Linked DNA regions of Homo sapiens: region 2 is linked to region 1. Evidence: promoter capture Hi-C in human tissues and cell types (Jung and others, 2019). All regions are on one chromosome and are shown on one strand. The core of a region is centred on a gene start or on the middle of the fragment in contact, and the rest is flanking DNA. Distances in the headings are between cores, read along the strand shown.

The links. Contacts are between HindIII fragments. The study calls those that stand out against the background at their distance.
Region 2: a contact is called between a fragment that was not itself captured here and the fragment with the promoter of ZSCAN21 in region 1, in 2 of the 25 tissues and cell types used here (adrenal gland and dorsolateral prefrontal cortex).

Annotation. Positions count from the first base shown.
Region 1 is chr7:100,048,315-100,051,533 of GRCh38, forward strand. ZSCAN21 (zinc finger and SCAN domain containing 21) reads left to right here and starts at 1,460. Exons shown (of 4, transcript NM_145914.3): 1 at 1,460-1,527. RefSeq lists an enhancer at 1,362-1,981. The HindIII fragment of the contact is 16,971 bases long and covers 1-3,219 here.
Region 2 is chr7:99,477,355-99,480,594 of GRCh38, forward strand. ZNF789 (zinc finger protein 789) reads left to right here. Exons shown (of 5, transcript NM_213603.3): 3 at 2,307-2,433. Among named protein-coding and RNA genes, the nearest start is that of ZNF789, 6.1 kb to the left of the region's middle. The HindIII fragment of the contact is 8,015 bases long and covers 1-3,240 here.

The DNA.
Region 1 (3,219 bases), core at 210-2,709:
TTTCCAGGCCTTTTTCCTGATCCAGGAGAGAATCAACTGGGCGTCTGGCACTTTTTAAAGTCTGATAAGAAATATTTGCAGTCTGTTCTTTCTGAAGCCGGCTGCCTGGAGGCTCCATCTGCATAATGGGAACCCTGGTCTCCACAACCCCTTAGTTCAGCGGTCCCCAACCTTTTTTGGCACCAGGAACCAGTTTTGTGGAAGACAGTTTTTTCCATGGATGGCAGGAGGGGGATGGATGGTTTCGTGGTTTCAGGATGATTCAAGCACATTACATTTATTGTGTACTTTATTTCTATTATTATTACATTGTAATATATCATGAAATAATTGTACAACTCATCATAACATAGAATTAGTGGGAGCCCTGAGTTTGTTTTCCTGTAATTAGAGGGTTCCATTGGGGAATTATGGGAGACAGCGACAGATCATCAGGTATTAGATTCTCATAAAGAGTGCACAACCTAGATCCCTCGCATGCACTGTCCACAATAGGGTTTGTGCTCCTGTAAGAATCTAATGCTATGGCTGATCTGACAGGAGGCGGAGCTCAGGCAGTAATTAGAGCAATGGGGAGTGGCTGTAGATACAGGTGAAGCTTTGCTCCTGCAGCTCACCTCCTGCAGTAACGGCCCAGTTCCTAACAGGCCATGGACTGGTATCTGTCTGTGCCCCAAGGGTTGGGGACCCCTGCCTTAGTCATCCCAGACATTCCTTTCTATTGATTATAGGTCTTTAGACAATAACTTTCAGCCAGTTGCCCATTAGAAGATCCTTGAGTTCACCTATGACTTGGAACATCCCCGCTTGGAATTGTCCTGCCTTTCCCACAGAACCAATGTTCATCTTACATGTCTTGATTGGTGTCTTATGTCTCCCTAAATTGTATAAACCCAAGCTGTAGCCCGACCATCATAGGTACATGTTCTTAGGACCTCTTGAGACTGTACCTTGGGCCATTGGTCACTCATATTTGTCTCAAAATAAATGTCTTCAAATATTTTACAGTTTGATTGTTTTCATCAACGAAGTATTAACTCAATCTCTGGCTTCACGGGCCAAGCACAGCGTTCCATGTCCATAAACCTGGACCGAGGAGCTGGGCCCAAGGGTATCCAGTGACCTCGATCCAGGTTTATGGACAAGGAACCCTGTGCTTATCCCAAGGGTACTCAGGGACCTTGGGCTCTGAAGTCCACGAGGGTGACCGAGGTGGCTGCCTCAGCCCATGCCCTCCCTGCCCCAGGGCGTCGGGGTTGGGTGAGAGAACCGCCGCAGCCTTCATCTGGTCTGACCGTCTTCGGTAAAAACAGAAAGAGTCCCTGGCTTTTCATTTTCGGGGTGGACTCAACTCCTCCCTGATGTCCCAAGGGCCAGAGACACAGAGAGGACCTCCCGAATTTCTAGAGGGGCCGCTACGGCCCCGCACTACTTTTCCGCGGGGGCGGGGCTATGACGCACTTCCGGGTGCGCGGTCCCGAGGTACGCGGTGCGGTCTCCCGGTACCCGGAGCGGCTCTGATTCATGGTGAGCCTGCTGGTCGCGGGTTAGCGAGGCGGACAGGAGAGGGAGCCGTGGCTGAATGGTCTGGGGAGGGAGGAGTGGGTTTAGCAGCTGTGGCTTCCGAGGACCCCACCTAGACCGGTCCTAGCAGGGCTGTGGGGAGGAGCTCCTCGTCCCCGCCCAGGACCAGCTGGTGGGGGCGCTGGCTGCCTGGAAAGCCTTTTCTTCCACTTGGGGCTTTAACAAATGAAAGCTGGAAGAACAGATGTTTTGGAAGTTCTTTCGCGTTCCAGAATAGTTTTTTTTGTGCGTTCCCCAAGCCAAGCCGTCTATCAGTCTGACCGTGGCCGCCTTTTTTCCCTTTCTCTGAACTGGAGGTCCGAACGCAAGGCTCATTGATGGCAATACGCCCAAGGTGTTGGAAACCTGTGGGAAGCCGAACCTCATTAGAAGTGTTGGGTAGAATCAAATCCAAGGGAAGAAATAGTCCCCTCGGGCTTTGTTCGGGCTAGAACACACACACAGAATAGGGATCTGCTCATGGTTTAGAAAAACAGTCTTAAAGAACCATGTATAAATAAAAGAGTGTCAGGACAAAGTTGATTTGGGCCAGGCGCGGTGGCTCACGCCTGTAATCCCAGCAGTTCGGGAGGCCGAGGCCGGCGGATCACTTGAGGTCAGGAGTTCGAGACCAGCCTGGCCAAACCCTGTCCCCACGAAAAATACAAAAATTAGCTGGGTGTGGTGGAGCGCGCCTGTAATCCCAGCTACTCAGGAGGCTGAGGCAGGAGAATCGCTTGAACCCACCAGGTGGAGGTTGCACTGAACCGAGATCACGCCACTGCACTCCAGCCTGGGCGACAGAGCAACACTTGGTCTCACAAAAAAAAAGAACGTTGATTTGATGGGTGAGGTACTTGGAAACCCACGAAATCTAAGGAACAGTTGAGCTGTGGAGAGGAAAAGAATTAAGAGGCAAGATAATTGTTTTCAAGTGTTGGAAGGCTGCTATGGAGAAAGTGAGTATTGGTCTTGGACTAACCTAGGATTTTTGAAATGATGCGGAATTTGATTCAGGTTAAAGAATTTGTGTGGCCGGGCGCGGTGGCTCATGCCTGTAATCCAGCACTTTGGGAGGCCGAGGCGAGTGCATCACCTGAGGTCGGGAGTTCGAGACCAGCCTGACCAACATGGAGAAACCCCGTCTCTACTACAAATACAAAATTAGGCGGGCGTGGTGGCACATGCCTGTAAGGAGGCTGAGGCAGGAGAATCGCTTGAACCTGGGAGGCAGAGGTTGCGGTGAGCCGAGATCGCGCCATTGCACTCCAGCCTGGGAAACAAGAGTGAAACTACGTCTCAAAAAAAAAAAAAAAAAAAAAAAAAGGAAGAACTTGTAACAATTAGTGGAATTCTGTGGCTCAAGAATTATCTAATTTGGCTGCCTAGGGATCTAGGGATTTTCTTTTTTTTTTTTTTTTTTTTTTTTTTTTTGAGATGGAGTCTCGCTCTGTCGCCTAGGTTGGAATGCAGTGGCGCGATCTCGGCTCACTGCAAGCTCCGCCTCCCGGGTTCTAGCCATTCTCCTGCCTCAGCCTCCCAAGTAGCTGGGACTACAGGCGCCCGCCACAACGCCTGGCTAATTTTTTGTATTTTTTAGTAGAGACGGGGTTTCACCGTGTTAGCCAGAATGGTCTCGATCTCCTGACCTCGTGA
Region 2 (3,240 bases), core at 344-2,843, 570 kb before region 1:
TTTTAGACGGAGTCTCACACTGTTGCCCAGGCTGGAATGCAGTGGCATGATCATGGCTCATGGCAGCCTTGACCTTCCCAGGCTCAGGTGATCCTCCCACCTCAGCCTCCCAAGTAGTTGGGACCACAGGTACATGCCACCACGCCTGGTTACTTTTGTATTTTTTGTAGAGACAGGGTTACACCATGTTGCCCAGGTTGTTCTTGAACTCTTGGCTTGAGCCATCCACCAGCCTCAGCCTCCCAAAGTGCTGGGAATCCAGGTGTGAGCCACCGCGCCCAGCCTAGAAGAGACTGAGTTTGAAAGAAAGGAGAGGACCAGTGGCTCATGCCTGGAATCCCAGCACTTTGGGAGGCTGAGGGGGGTGGATTGCCTGAGGTCAGGAGTTTGAGACCAGCCTGGCCAACATATAGTGAAACTCCATCTCTACTAAAAATACAAAAATTAGCTGGGTATAGTGGCGCATGCCTATAATCCCATCTACTTGGGAAGCTGAGGCAGGAGAATTGCTTGAACCGAGGAGGTGGAGGTTGCAGTGAGCCGAGATCGCGCCATTGCACTCTAGCCTGGGCAACAAGAGCGAAACTGTCTCAAAAAACAAAAACGAAAACAAAAACCCAAACAAACAAAAAATGGAACTTTTAAGCAACATTTGGTGCCCATCTGTCAATGTACAAGTCCTAGCTGTTGATGGGTTCTTGGAAACTGCAACTTTAAGGGAAACTATGTATATCAAAACCGTTTTTTTTCCATCAGTGTTACAGTGAAACAAAGTTATTCAAGGACCTGCTGCTGTACATACTTTTGCTAAAAATCAGTTTCCAAGAACCTATTGTGGATGTTAGGAGAGGAGTTACCATGCCACAATGACTCTGGGAGATGAAGCCATTTTATTCCCATGCTTGTTAACCTTGTGCAGGTGCGGGAATGCAGATGGCTGAGTAGGTCAGATTGAGGACATGGCAGCGCAGCTCTGGTAAAAGAGTGACACTCTGGATAATGGTGAGAAAGGGCCTGCAACCGTAGCAGTGGAACTCAGGTTTGATAGGCAGGAAAGAAAGTCCGTATAATTTGGGAGGTTCTGGTGCCTGCCTGCAGAGGGGAGCTACGTGAAGCTTCTCAGGATGGTCTCAGGATGGGGGTGGGCATTTCCTGTTACTGACCACTTATAGGACAGCGAACGTTTGCCCTTTCCCTGCACACATCCCCTCTGAACCCATGCAGTGTCTTGTGAGAGCAAGGAGTGTGTAGACAGCCGCTGGGCCCCTTTGCCCAGAGGGCTGCAGTGGTGTGGGAGGGAGAGTGTGGCAGCTTCAGTGCTCAGCCCACTGGAGGGGGCAGTCACTTGCAGATGTAATGTCCCCTGTGCTCACTGTGCTGTGTCCACTGTTGCCCACTCTGGATATGCTCCCCAGGCGTCTGCGCCTTGGTCTGTACCTTTTATATTCTCCAGCAACGGGCTCCCCTGGTCTCTGGCATCTGCTTGGCTTGTGGCAATGGGATGAAGAGGGTTGGAGGACAGGGGACAGGGCGCCGGAGGCCTGGGGAAAACTGAGGTTGGGTTTCTCTTCCCACGGCTCCCTCCCCACTGGGCTGTGGGATGGGTGTGGCTGCATCCTGTTCAGCCGCAGCTGGTCTTGCTCCCCTTCCAGCAGCCTTCTGGGCTCCAGCAGCCCTCCCCACCTTACCCCTTCAGACCTAGCAGGCCCTGGTTCCCCAGGGTGGCCAGGACCTGCGAGCTTCCACATTTCTTGTTCATGTTCATTGAGACTATTCATCCCTTTGTAAATAGTCTGCACATTAACCAACCCCCCAGTGACCTCATCTCTTTCCTAAGGAACCTGGGGCAGAAGCAATAGGTTATTTTTATAGAGCAGCGGTCAGCAAACTGCCCTGGACCGCTTGGTAAAGTTTCCCTGAAACACAGCTGTGCCCATTCGCTTACTTGTCCACGGCTGCTTTTGTGCTCCAACACAAAGGCTGTTCCTCAGATTGTTGATTTGCTGTTCCTCTAATCAACAGCAGATTTGAGGAACTGGAACAGAGACCAGAGGGCCTGAAAAGCCTAAAATATTTACCATCTGGCCCTTTAGAGATTAATTGTGTCGACCCCGTGGTATGGAAGCCAGCACATGTCTGGCCTGAGGGCCATCAGGCCTGAAAGGAGCCCTGAATATATTCCTTATGAATTGGGTGCCCTTGGCCCACACTCTACCTCCCAAACCTTGGTTTCCTCAGCTGTGGAATAATCATTGAGCGTAAGTTATTTTAAGAATTGCAGTTACCTTTATCAGCTACTTTTCCAGGAGCTGCTCTCGTTTGAGGATGTGGCGATGTACTTCACCAGAGAGGAGTGGGGCCACCTCAACTGGGGTCAGAAGGACCTCTACCGAGATGTGATGTTGGAGAACTACAGGAACATGGTCTTGCTGGGTAGGACACGGCTTGAAGATTGGGCTTTGTCTGTGTTCTGAGTGTCTGTGCAAGCCCTTAGTCCCTTATCTGCAATTCCAGAATCAGAAAAAGCGGTGAAAACCGAAAGGTTTTTTTATAACTCGTGTGGCTACAAGCCCTGACCAGACATCACCACAGTGAAACCTGACTTCATCCTATAGGAAACCATTTATTGTCTTTATTTTTCCAACTTGGTGTGCATATCTGTATACCCAACTTCAGAAATAACAGTGTAGGCCAGGTGCGGTGGCTCACACCTGTAATCCCAGCACTTTGGGATTCCGAGGCGGGTGGATCACATGAGGTCAGTAGTTTGAGACCAGCCTGGCCAATATGGTGAAACCCAGCTCTACTTAAGATGCGAAAATTAGCCTGGTGTGGTGGTGCACGCTTGTAGTCCCAGTTACTTGGGAGGCTGAGGCAGGAGAATCGCTTGAACCCGGGAGGCAGAGGTTGCATTGAGCCGAGATCATGCCGCTGCATTCCAGCCTGGGTGACAGAGCGAGACTCCGTCTCAAAACAAAACAAAACAACAACAAAAATAACAGTGTATTTGAGGGCACCACTCCAAACCCTACTGGGGATGATACGTTATGTAAAATATTTACACCAGGTCACCTTTCTGAAATGGGAAAAATTCTGACTCCTGAAACACATCTGGTCCTAAGGGTTTCACATAAGGGACTGGGGACAGTGAATAGTCGTGTTGTGTTAGGGCTCAGACCGAGACACTTCATGCATTCTTCACTCTCACCTCGTGTTCCTCATCTGTAAGACCTCCAGGAG